4 separate regions of the Homo sapiens genome follow, and regions 1, 2 and 4 are each linked to region 3. The links are contacts of gene promoters, found by promoter capture Hi-C in blood cells and fetal thymus (Javierre and others, 2016). All regions are on one chromosome and are shown on one strand. The core of a region is centred on a gene start or on the middle of the fragment in contact, and the rest is flanking DNA. Distances in the headings are between cores, read along the strand shown.

Region 1 (2,979 bases), core at 317-2,816, 240 kb before region 3:
AACTGTTATTTTATTACAAGAGATTACAGGACATTCTTTAATAATTTTAGAGTCTCTGCTGTAATCAGTATCAAACTCAGAGCTTTGGCTTGTAAAATCCACGTTATTTTGCTGAAAACTAGATAGTGATTTGCCCTTCACCAGTCTTCTATTATTTGCTGTGATTTCTCTTAGACCTACTAGTTCTGCTGTTTCTGAAGTCTTGCAGGCAGGCAATATCTTTGAGTTCAACCCAGTTAAACTAGGAGCCAGAACTCCCGGAGAGCAGCAGAAGAGTGAGTAGGGGCAGGAGTCACTTACAACTTCTTAATCCATCATGGATTTCAGTTCCCACTTACTAATAACTGTTTCACCTTTTGAGTTTTTTTCAGTACAAACAAGATGGAAGCTAAATGGCCAATGAGGAATCTTTTTTTTTTCTGTGATATCCGTCTTCATTGAAGTTCTTCAGAGAGCTTTAGTACTCTTCATAGTTTAAAATACAAAACTATCTTCTTGGTTGTCCAATTCAGTTTCTGCAGCCCCCAGTTGGTTAGAACTTTGACTTCCAGCACTCCTCCTATGGGCTTCTATGATACTATATTCGCTACTGAATCAAGGGCTGATTCCTCTTATCCTATTATGGACCCAATGAGCTTTTAATGCAGAAATTCTTTGAATGGGTCTTTTGCAAACCTGCTTATTAATTTAAGAAGTTTCCTCTTTTCTCCTTTATTGAAATCATTTAGAAACATATAGATAAAATTTCACTTTTAACTTTTTGAACCATCTTCCTCTTCAGATTCTTAGTGTATAATCAAACCTATTCCCTTTCCAAAATTATGAAATTTGCATTTCTACTTAGAATACTGGAAGGTGGATTTTAGTTTTCCCAGAAATATAAAGTTTCTTGGGGCAAAATATAGAATACTGGGGGCTTCTCCACACTCGGGGCTTTGGAAGCCACACTGTATAAGACTATTGTGTGTTTTTACCCAAGTACCACTAATGTGGAACAGTGGCACTGTTTACTAAACGGTAAGTTTTTTATATTCTAAATCTTATGATCACAGTGGGTCTGCTTTAAGTTTGATATATTTATAAACAAATGTATTTTCTTCTGGTTTATTCTTCATATATTCTAAAATATTTAGATTTAAATATGAACTATATGCTCATAAGCTTGGCTGACTCTAGCAAAAAGTAGTCTTCTATAGGAAAATTGTCTTTGTTTCCCAGACTTCTCTTTGCTGTCATTCCCCCCCATTGGTGGTTGCCTAGTCCTCCTATTCTTCAGTTTCTCAGTGCTCTCATAGTCCTGCCTCCTGTGACTCTAACTCAATATAATCACATATTTATTATATTCACAATGAGTTATAAATATCTAGAAGTTGTTCTTCCCTGGACATAACTATGTTAAGAAGCATCAGATGCTGCTAAAGGCTTTCGGAAGAGAAATGAGGAAGTTCATTGTCAATCACTCATTTATTCTTTTACTCAATAAACACTTGTAGAGCCTCCCCTATGTGCCAAAACGGTGTCAGGAAACACAAGATCATTGCAGATGAAGTTCCTGAACTCTAACAACTCTCCTTGTAGGAGAGAGAGATACCAGAAAATATAAGGGGTGTGAAAACCAGAAAAGATTAATTTTGAATTACAATTTCAGCTTAGCTATCCAAAAAACGATTACATCCCATTCAGAAAAGCATGTGAAAAGGGTATGAACTAGCATTTCAGATTTTGAAGACTGCATCAGGGTGTACTTACGGTGAAGGGTCCCAAGTGCCAAAGCAGCTAGAGAAAAAGCAGGTGCTGGATCATGAGGGACTTTATGCCTAAGGTGAGAGTTGGACTTTATCTCTAAAACTGTGGGCAATATCTAAAGCATAATTTTCTTGGCTCCTAGAGACAAAATGTAGGTGGCTTCTTCTTTCCTCTCAGCCCCCATTTTAATAGAAGAGAATTTTGAAAGAAGATAACTAAGCTTTATACTTCTACACTATCAATGAAATTACATTTTTTAGCATTAAGAAAGGTATGGACACGTTAGAATTTAATGTAATATTTGTCTGATTTCTCATGATGTGAGATTTGTGGGCTTATGATAGTGTCTGTGTAAATATATATATATATGCAACATTACACATGTATATGTGTGCATTATCTATTAAATATATACTTATCAAAATATCCAACTTTCATGTTTATAAACTTATAATTCACAGGCAACAATGGCAAATCAGAGTGGATCTTATTTTTAATCTGCCTAGCAGAAAATTTATTTAGTATATGTTTTACTATAATTATCCTAATAATTGTTCCACTGTACATAGGGACTTTTCCCAGAGTTGAGTAAATTGGTTAGGAAATAAAAGGAGCTATACTGCATAAAAATAACCTAAAATTAACATCTGCAAATAAGCCAGGGGACGTGTGTCTGTCTCTGTGTATCATAAGCATTTCTAGAGACTGATCATCTGACTTAGTACTTTTACATAGCTATCCTTTCCCTACTTGGCCCCAAGAGAATGTTATTTCTCATGATTGGTTTATCCATTGTATTAAAACAGAAAGAAATAATACAATTTTCTCTTAAATTTCCCAGTGCCTCAGTTCAATTTCCTGCTGGTAGATTTCTGCTTTCTTTTTATATCTAAGAAATTATACTCTTTACTTTACAAAGGACAGTGCACTGACCGACTGAAATGAATGTGCTTGTAATAGAACAGTGGGCAGCAGCCTGCCAGGCTTGGTGAAGAGTGCAGCCTGCTATTGCTTTCCAAGGAACAGTTTCTCCCACAGCTTTCTTTCACCAAAGTGTGTCTATTGCCATCAAGTCAGAAAGGAATGAATATTTGCGTGGTTGGGGAAAACAAACCTGCTGTTGAGGAACAGGTTACTTTAAGCCGGAATTATCTAATCAGACTGTACCAAAATCACCAAGCAATTGCTAGCTCTGGACTTAGCTTTTATAAAGCAACGACAAAATGAGTTAAT
Region 2 (3,007 bases), core at 390-2,889, 190 kb before region 3:
TTAAAATGTGCATGAATTTTGCTGGAACAATTTCACACCTACGATTTTACACCAAGATGAAAAATGATCAAGTGAATACAAATGTTCATGAGTAGGGATGTTCATTGCAGCATTGTTTACATAGTGAAAAACCAAAACCAAGCCTCCGTGTGTAATACTGAAGGGTTGATAAAATGAAGCAAAGTAAAAGGAAATTCCCTGAAGTTATTAAAAGGGAGATGAATTAGATATATTCATTAACTGAGAAAGACATCCATGTCATCGTTAGGAAAAACTAGTTTCAAATCTGAGTAGTATCCATGGGGAAATCTTTGCCCGTTTTATGTGAAATAAGTAATTCAAATCTACAAGACAAACAGGTTCAATGGGTAATCCAGGCCCCTGTCTCTCTGCCTGTAACAGGCAGGCACAGAATCAATCAGAGTAAGCCTGTGGACCAAAGAGAATCCTAGACCTCATGATACTCCATCTTGGGGGTGCTGACCACCCCTTGCCCTTCTGAAAAATCAAGAATCTGTGAAGTGTTTGGCGCACTTAGTTAAATATAAACTTTCTCCATGACTCAGCAATTCCATTCCTGACATATGTCCCAAAGAAAGGGAACATTACCGAAAAAAGTGGCCTGTAATCCCAACACTTTGGGAGGCCAAGGAGGGCAGATCACAAGGTCAGGAGATCGAGACCATCCTGGCTAACACGGTGAAACCCTGTCTCTACTAAAAATACAAAAAATTAGCCAGGCTTGGTGGCGGGCGCCTGCAGTCCCAGCTGCTCGGGAGGCTGAGGCAGGAGAATGGCGTGAACCCGGGAGGCAGAGCTTGCAGTGAGCCGAGATCGCGCCACTGCACTCCAGCCTGGGCGACACAGCGAGACTCCGTCTCAGAAAAAAAAAAAAAAAAGGTGTTGCAGTGTTGTATACGGGACAGTGAGTTGGCAGTACCCAAATGCCCATCACTAAGGAATGAGTAGAGGATGGAACCAGGGCACAATAGGCAGCTTTTAGAAACAGTAGGTTAGGCCGGGCGCGGTGGCTCACGCCTGTAATCCCAGCACTTTGGGAGGCCGAGGCGGGTGGATCATGAGGTCAGGAGATCGAGACCATCCTGGCTAACAAGGTGAAACCCCGTCTCTACTAAAAATACAAAAAATTAGCCGGGCGCGGTGGCGGGCGCCTGTAGTCCCAGCTACTGGGGAGGCTGAGGCAGGAGAATGGCGTGAACCCGGGAAGCGGAGCTTGCAGTGAGCCGAGATTGCGCCACTGCAGTCCGCAGTCCGGCCTGGGCGACAGAGCGAGACTCCGTCTCAAAAAAAAAAAAAAAAAAAAAAAAGAAACAGTAGGTTAGGTGCACATGTAAGAACAGGGATAGTGCTGAGAAAAAAAAAAATCAGAAAGATATCTGTAAAACAACAAAATTTATGTAAGTTTAAAAGTGCATACAACAACTATAGACATTTAAAGATATACATTAAATCCATTGAATGTTCACCAGCTTGGGGTGGGGAAGAGAGTAATGAGAGTGGGAAATACAATGGCATACACATAGGTACGTATTTATAAAGAGGGATATTGCATGGGCTAATGATGATAGTAGGCCATGAAAGTTATATAATTAACTCCTTGTTCCTGGAAAATAAAAAATGGAAGGAAGGAATTAAGGTGGGATGGAAGAAAGGAAGAAATGCAGTGTGGGAGGGAAGGAGGTTTTAGGAAAGGAGAAAGAAAGGAAAAAAGGAAGGAGCATGTTGCAAAGAAGTATAAAGTTGCAAAGAAGCACAGATAGGTATGATTCCATTTATATAAAATTTTGTGTATATATCTGTGAAAAGGGTTTGTGTATACGTGTGTGCATGTGTGTACATAAAAGAGATGTCTTAAAGAATACTCATTAAAATGAGCATTTTAATGCTCACCTATGTCACCCCTGGGAGTGAGATTTTAGATGGGTTTTACTTTTCTTAATACTTCTTTTGTATTGCTTGGCTATTCCAGATGGGAATGTGTTATATCTATAATCTGAGGTTGAGGGGTTGGTATAATTTTGGGTTGTGGGTGGAAATAAATCATCCAGGAATAGCAGATCCTCTCTCTTGCTCTCCTGACATGTCTTTCATATAAACATTGTCTCTAATCATTTTTACTCACCCTTCAATGTGTCAAATGTAAAGCAGGTGTGGCAGAAGCAATAGTGATTTAGTTACAAAATATTGAAATATACTATAAAGATGGACAGGAAATCCATAAGGTGCTTCTTCTGCAATTAAGAACAATATCTAATCATCAGAAACAAGTTTGCTGGCTTGAAATCAAGTGATAAAATGATGCTGAGCCACAAGAGATTCTTGCCCTAATTCCCCTAAAGCTGCTCGTTCTCCTGTTTGCTTTGATTGAACGGCTTCTGTTTCTATTGTCGCAGGCAGGGATACCTAGCAAATTCTCCGCTACTTCAGGCAGGTTTACCCTAGCTAAGTGAAATGAAATCTTAAGCAACCTCTGGGGTACTTGTTGGCTTTAATAATTCAAGTGATAGCACCCACTTTCTTTTCAGAATATATATGCCTTCCTAAACTGTCTCATGCACTGAATTTTTCTATTTTACCATCTTTGTAAATATTCCAATAATGTTATTACAAAATAATGGATAACTATGTCCAAGATGGGTAAATTTAGCTTAAATCCAAAATATATAAATCTTAGTGGTTCCTTGTAATCTCATGGACATGGCTGAAAAGGGGAACGTGGTTCAAAATAATAGTCCCCATAAGTACCTTTCAGGAAATTCCAACTAACACTTACTAATTTCAGAGTAAGTAGATACTAGCTGGCATCCAATTAGCTACAGTATTTACATATTCTATCTCACTGAATCCACCTAATTAAGAGGTAGTATCTATTTATGAGATAGGTATAATTAGCCCCGTTCTACAGATGAGTAAATTTAAGGTCATAGAAGTTAGATAACTTGACCAAGACCACAAAGCTAATAAAGAAGTGCCCAACCTGCAGTTC
Region 3 (3,377 bases), core at 129-2,628:
ACATCTTTTTGGCTAGGTGAATGATGAAATAGATGGAGCTATTGTTATGCTTTCACAGCTATCTATACACCGTAATATTATGCACATTGCATTGGTGTTTTTCCATCAAAGGCAAAATCAAATTAGATGAAAGTGTTTTGTGTTGGTTTCTTATCTCTTCATTGTTTGCAATAACTTTTCTTTCTTCAGGTGTCTTGGGCTCAATTCCTGAGAAGGCTGATTGGGCCTTAAGGCAATGAGGGAAGCCAACACATCTCTCTCAGGAGCCGAGGGAGGAAATGCCCAATCTTTTTATGTCAGCCTCTCTTGGAGTCAATAGGGAAAATTATTAGAAAAATCCCATTCTCACTTTCACTCAAATTTCTACTGCCCAGAAACCCATAATCAAAGAACAAGTCATCAAGCATACTTCTTCTTTATATGTGTGTGTCTGTGTGTGTGTGTGTTTGTGTGTGTGTGTGTGTATTGATTGATTTGCTGGTTGGTTGGTTAATTGATTGATTTTAGTTACCAATGCCTTAAAAGGGTCTTCTTAAGGAACAATGAAGACCCTTAATACTGCAGCATACCTGTATACATTGAAAAGCACTTTAAGGCATTTCTTGGTGTGTGAAAGGAAAAGTAAAAATTGAGTCTTACCACCAGGTAACTTCTGTGAGACCCAAGTCTTGATTCGTCTCTTTGCTGTACCTATTGTCAGGCTTTATATTGAATTAAGATGCAAATTCCAAACAATGGGTGGGAACTGTAACACTCTAAGCACTCACACACCATGATTCCTTCTGGGTTTCACGCTCCATTTTAATTAAGTGCTGTTTTTATTTTATTTTTCTCTCTGAAAACCAAGGCTGCTGGCGAAGTGTCTAAACACTTGTATAAAGTGTGGAAGAAGGTTTGTACTCTGACAACAACTGCAGGAAACCTGGGGGTGGGATGGGGAATGTCATTGGAAAGGCCTGTGCCCTTCCAATGTTACCAGACCTGTAGCTCTCCAATTGCAGTTTAGAAGGGAAGTTCCATGTAAAGAGAGAGGAGTGATTGAATATGTTATCTCTCTCAACAACATCACCTGTGAATTGAAAACAGGTTTGCAGTGGATTAAATAATTATGGATTAAATATTTCCCCCAAGATTATTTTTGTTTCTCCCAGGCAGGATCAGTCCTTGTTAGGATTGAAAGCAGGCAACTGTAACAGAAGGAGACACTGACCTATTTATATTCCTTCTCAAATCACTAAATATTTTCCTTAAGGGGGATAAAAATCACAATAGATTTGATCCATGAGACTAGTCAGATAGGCTACAGCCTCAGAAGGCTAGGACACCTCCTGTAATGTCACCACCACAAAATATGAACCATTTTCAGAAATTTCCTTTTCTCATGAGCTATCTTTTGTTTTGTGTGATATCTTCATCAGAGTATACTGTCTTGCAATTTGTTTTAGAGCCACAGTTCTAAAGAGGACACAAACGTTAGGGACCTTGGAAAGGAAATGAGATTATCTTGTGAATTATAACACCCACTATTTTATAGTTTATTATACAGTGCCATGTTGCCAATGAATGTGCATAGATTTATGTAAGCAAATATGAGACATTAAAAACATTTGGATCAGAGAAATGTCCCCGTGGTAAGCAAACATTTTCTTTCATCTCTTCTCTCTCTTTCTCTTCCTCCTCTCCTTCCTTCCCTCTCTGTCTCTCTCTCTCTAAAACTACTTGGTAAAAAAAATCTATGGACTGATGAATGGACCTTAAATTGCTTCAGGTTGTTCAACTTGAACAGTTTTGTCAGGTTCACTTTCATCTTTCAAATTATCAGCTATGTCACAGAAAGTGTACACAAGTTTCTCCCTGTAGCCAAAAACCTTGTCCCCCTCTTAGTAGTACTCAGTGATGAATTCAAAAATTTTTTCTTTTTAAGTTTTCAAAGCATAGGTTTAAAAGCCTTGTTTTAATCTTCAGTGAACAAGGCTACTAAGTGCATGTAGAAGGCGATCTGGTTTCCTCACTAAAATTTTACTGGTAAATAGATGAACCTAACCGGCACCCAGAAAAAGAAAAAAAAAAAAAAAAACCTATTACACTAATCCATCTTGAGACTCTGGGCACTTTGAATTAATCTAATACAAATGTCCCAGGGAATGGAATCCAAGCTTTGAAATTATATAAAGGGGAGGGGGGATGTCCTCTATTTGTCACTAAACTGCAAGAGCCACACACACTCCCGAGGGTTGTAACTTTCTGATCTTGATCCTCCATGCCTTCATGCCTCTTCCCTCCTGGTAGCCCATCATGTTCCACATTGTAAGTTGTATATACTGTGGTGTGCTGTTTTGTGTTATAACTCCGTCAAAAATTCACGGTAACCTGAGTTCTAGCACAGGCGACCCACTCAGACCCAACAAACACATTGCACTTTTTCCAGAAGTCTCCAACTTAAACAAAAATTCACCTTCATCATATTGAAATCCCAAAAGCTTTCCTCGTACTCTGACTTATTTTAGAATAGTATTATTCACCCAAAATTCTTTCCAAAAGAGGAAGGTAGCAATCTTTACAACATCCCTCACTAAAATATTTGTTATATAAGGTTCGTAATACAGGAAACACATATACCTTTATCTTTGCCCTAGATACCTGATTATTTCCCTCAGCCACTTTAGATGTTGAGTTTACATGAATCACTGTCTAGGTTTAGAAGATAGATACTAGTGGCTCTCTGAATACCCTTTTTATTGCATCGCTTTTTAAAAAAAGTTTGCTTAATGTCATTTGGGCACTCATTTTCAAATGCTTTTCTCAGTTGTCCTAGATAACACATGGCTGCTCCCTTGTGCCAGCTTACAAAGTGAAAGAAATCAGGGCCAGGTAATTTAGATATTGAGTGCTCCTCCCCACAAGTAACTGATCCACCCTCCACTACTTCTCACTGGTAAATGACTACTGTCTGCTTTCACTGTGAAGCTTGAAAACTGAGGTTCCGCTCCCTGGAGGCACTCCTCCTAGTTCGTAGAACAGTACTGAAATGTCAAATGTCCAGGCATCTTCTTAACTGTACCTCTGTCTCCAGCACACATGAATCATGAGATCTGACTTCTTTAAAGGGAGACATTCATTTCCTGAGAACATATTCATTTACTTCAAGTAACAGATAAAGCCACATGACTACTTGGGTTTAAAAGACACAGGTACACACATGCGTGCACATACACACACACACACACACACATACACAGTTCTGTTTTGCTGATTACAGGTTTGGAAACAGAAGACTGAGGTCACTCAGCATATATATACTGTACATTTCCCAGGAATAGCCTGACCTTTACTATATTTTGATACTCTTCTAGTCTACATTTAAAGGACCTTCTGTA
Region 4 (3,294 bases), core at 792-3,291, 200 kb before region 3:
TTTAAAAAGAGGTAAGTACTATTTATTAAGTTGGTGCAAAAGTAATTGCGGTTTTTACCATTAAAAGTAATGGTAAAAACCGCAATTACTTTTGTACCCACCTAATAGAAGAGTAAGTCAAAAAATAGCCTGCGTGTATGGGAGGCCAGTGTAGAAGAAATGGTCAACTTAAAAGCATTCCAAAGAGTCACTACTCCTGGCTCTAAGCTCATTTCTGTCCCTAGTCAACCATGTGGTCTTCAACAAGGTACTCAACACCAGTCTGTCTTGATTTCTTCACTTGTAAAATGAGAGCATTAAAAGTTAAATGATCCACCATCGGATCTCTTGTAATATTATTTTCAGTGAGATCATGGCCCTTGTTTTGTAAACCAGTTGCTGGCTTTGGAGTTGTGATGAGGCAAAATCAAAGCAATTACCGCCCTTTGCCCTCTCCCATCAGCTGCCTCACCCTGTCCTCAGGCACTCAGGTATAGACCATGGATCCTCTTTCTCCCTCCTCCGACTTGTCTACATACAGGGTCTTACCATTTTTTGTTCATACTTGTGTGACAGTGTTCATCTTCCAATATACAAAGTATCTTTGTGGTATAGACCATGTCTTATACTTTCTTGTGTTTTCTACACAATCTACTATAGTGTTAGGTGCACAGAAGGTATTCATCAAAAGCCTAATGCGTGAACGGGTTGGTTTGTTTCATTAACTTTATTTTCATTTGAAGAGTTTTTGGTTTATTGAGCCAACAGAAATTCCAACAAGAATTCATCAAGTACAATAAAGAAACAATTGACCATTAGGAAATGTTAAGAACACATTCCCTTTTTAAAGTTGCAAGACCTGGGTACATACTCTCGCTATAGTCCATTCTGTCATATATGTGTGAATACAATAATGCTGACTTGTAATGCTTGCTTAATAAAGGTGTCTTCTTTTTAAAAGCTTTTAGAGTGGGGAAAATGGGCCAGTATGGGTTTGTAAGAATGCATACACATGGTGGAGAAAAGTTGTTTTCCTTTCGATTTGTAAAATCACTTTCTACTGTTCTCAGAGATAAGCCCTGACACATAAGAAAGGAAATGCCTGGTAGCATTGAATTGTTGCATGCCTAGAGGGAGCAGCTAAAGGGCCAGTGCTTTGGGCTATGTAGGCTTTAAGAAAGCCAGATCGTGTATTTCATTTTTGTGATCCAGATAACTTATAAGGGATTTGCTGTCATGTACCCACAGAAAAAGGAACTGTCTAAATTCTCATGCCATGGCATAAGAGAACGATGTACTTTGCAAGCTGTTATGACCCTAGGAGACTCCTCAGTACAACAATCTCATTTGCAGAAGAAGTTCGGAGAAGCCTCTTATGATTAAATAAATTTTATTATTTTCCACTTAACAAAATTCATTCACACTTTACTGTAGAGCCAATAATGGTTTAACCTTAAAATGACCTCTTTAGTAATACCATAAGTGGAATTTCTACTTGAATATAAATGTTGTCTGTTTAAAAAAACTGGCTGGGCACTGTGGGTCATGCCTATAATCCCAGCACTTTGGGAGGGAGGCTAAGGCAGGTGGATCACTTGGGGTCAGGAGTTCAAGACCAGCCTAGCCGACATAGTGAAATCCTGTCTCTACTAAAAATACAAAAATTAGTCGGGCATGGTGGTGCATGCCTGTAGTCCCAGCTACCTGGGAGGTTAACGCAAGAGAATCGCTGGAACCCAGGAGGCAGAGGTTGCACTGAGGCAAGATTGTGCCACTGCACTCCAGCCTGGGCGACAGAGTGAGACTCCATCTCAAAAAACAAACAAACAAACAAAAAACAAATGAAAACAAACAAACAAACAAAAACACCTGGGCTCTGGGGCTCTGGAGTGAGATACAGCTGGGTTTAAATCTGAGGTTGGCCTTTACTGGCTGTGTGTCCCTGGACAGGTCACCTAATGTCTTTAAACATTTGTTTACATGTTAAGTGGAAGATATTCTACTCTCTACCTTAAGTGAGACATTCCGTGAATAGCATAACAGCGCCATGTGGTTTTACATATGGTAAGTGTCCATGTCAGTCTAAATGTCTTAAAACGGTTGCAATTCTTTTCCAGTTCTTCTAATTATAAAATTAAGCAAGACAGATTTTTAAATATAATGCTTTGATGGCACATTAAAGGTTGAAATGTCCAAGACGGAAGATGTGATTGTTTCCATGTAACTGATATGAGGAAAAGGGTTGATAACCTTTATTTTGGATGATGAGGTTTAGCCTGGGATTGCTGGCATTCTTGGAATGTGACAATTCCAGGCAATGTTTACAGTTCTCAGGTGTTCTCTGAGATAGTATTATCTGGAGGTAATCTTTTGTTGATTGTCAGTAGGGACAAATGGAATTAATTTAGCATCGATCTCTCTCAGCCTCTCTCCAATCTTCACTCCTACCTCCACCAAACACAGCATCTAACCAAACCAACCACCAAGTAAAGCAAGCCAGCCAGGTGATGTCTTCGGACTATATAGTGTCATTTTTAACCCACCAATGTTTAAGGAGAATTAATATACAGAGTCCCTAGAATTTGTCAGCACGTTAATACTGCTTTGAGCAACCCAAAGAGGCTTTGGACATGCCGAGGAGTATTTGGAGACAGGAATTGAGAGGAAAGTGGACTTTGAAAAGTGTTTCTTTTAATGTTCTTTGAAATCACTCTAAAATTCTTTGAGAAATGCAGGTAATGAATGAAGGATTTTTAAAAGGCACTGTGGTAGTTGTCTTGCTTTTCTTTCTTCAATTTAATGTGATACAATGTTAAGACTGGAATTCACTTGGAGTTCTCATATTTATTCAAATTGCAGAATTTTAGGGAAAAATTTGAACAACTAAATCATCTTAGGGCTCTAAGCTATATAGTTGTAAGAAAAAGAACTTGTGTGTTTAAAGTTATGCTAAACTACTTAGCACTACTTACATTAAAGTAATGAACGATAATCCTGGAGTACGTAGTAGAGTTAAATTTTATCCATCCTATTGTTAGCTTTTTCAGTGAGGTCACCAATAAAACCTAAATTGAGAATCTGGTAAGTCATTACTTCCCATTCGCCTAAGAATTTTTAGCAGCAGTATCCTTGGATGTTCAGAGGATAGACCTAATAAAGCTTATTATCAGGTTGGATCAATGCAAGACAGACAGCCAAGTATATTATAAAAGACAGTAGATAGAAAGGATCTTTAATAAATAAAGTCAATTTCTTCCAGTCGGTATTCAGGACTCATCATGTTGAGTAGATGCCACCTATTCTCTATAATTTGTT

What was found. Contacts are between HindIII fragments. The CHiCAGO score rates a contact against its expected background, and 5 or more counts as called.
Region 1: a contact is called between a fragment that was not itself captured here and the fragment with the promoter of GRIK1-AS2 in region 3, in 5 of 17 cell types (M1 macrophages, megakaryocytes, M0 macrophages and 2 more). The highest score is 6.2, in M1 macrophages.
Region 2: a fragment that was not itself captured here is called in contact with the fragment with the promoter of GRIK1-AS2 in region 3 in 1 of 17 cell types (monocytes); the score reaches 5.3 in monocytes.
Region 4: a contact is called between a fragment that was not itself captured here and the fragment with the promoter of GRIK1-AS2 in region 3, in 1 of 17 cell types (monocytes). The highest score is 5.7, in monocytes.

What each region holds. Positions count from the first base shown.
Region 1 is chr21:29,835,805-29,838,783 of GRCh38, reverse strand. All of the region lies in intron 1 of GRIK1 (glutamate ionotropic receptor kainate type subunit 1), which reads left to right. Among named protein-coding and RNA genes, the nearest start is that of GRIK1-AS1, 89 kb to the right of the region's middle. The HindIII fragment of the contact is 805 bases long and covers 1,164-1,968 here.
Region 2 is chr21:29,779,979-29,782,985 of GRCh38, reverse strand. All of the region lies in intron 1 of GRIK1 (glutamate ionotropic receptor kainate type subunit 1), which reads left to right. Among named protein-coding and RNA genes, the nearest start is that of GRIK1-AS1, 33 kb to the right of the region's middle. The HindIII fragment of the contact is 5,578 bases long and covers 1-3,007 here.
Region 3 is chr21:29,594,041-29,597,417 of GRCh38, reverse strand. It overlaps GRIK1-AS2 (GRIK1 antisense RNA 2), which reads right to left and starts at 1,378. Exons shown (of 3, transcript NR_033368.1): 1 at 640-1,378. GRIK1 (glutamate ionotropic receptor kainate type subunit 1) reads left to right here. Exons shown (of 18, transcript NM_001330994.2): 9 at 848-892. The HindIII fragment of the contact is 3,262 bases long and covers 1-2,158 here.
Region 4 is chr21:29,798,046-29,801,339 of GRCh38, reverse strand. All of the region lies in intron 1 of GRIK1 (glutamate ionotropic receptor kainate type subunit 1), which reads left to right. Among named protein-coding and RNA genes, the nearest start is that of GRIK1-AS1, 52 kb to the right of the region's middle. The HindIII fragment of the contact is 2,198 bases long and covers 943-3,140 here.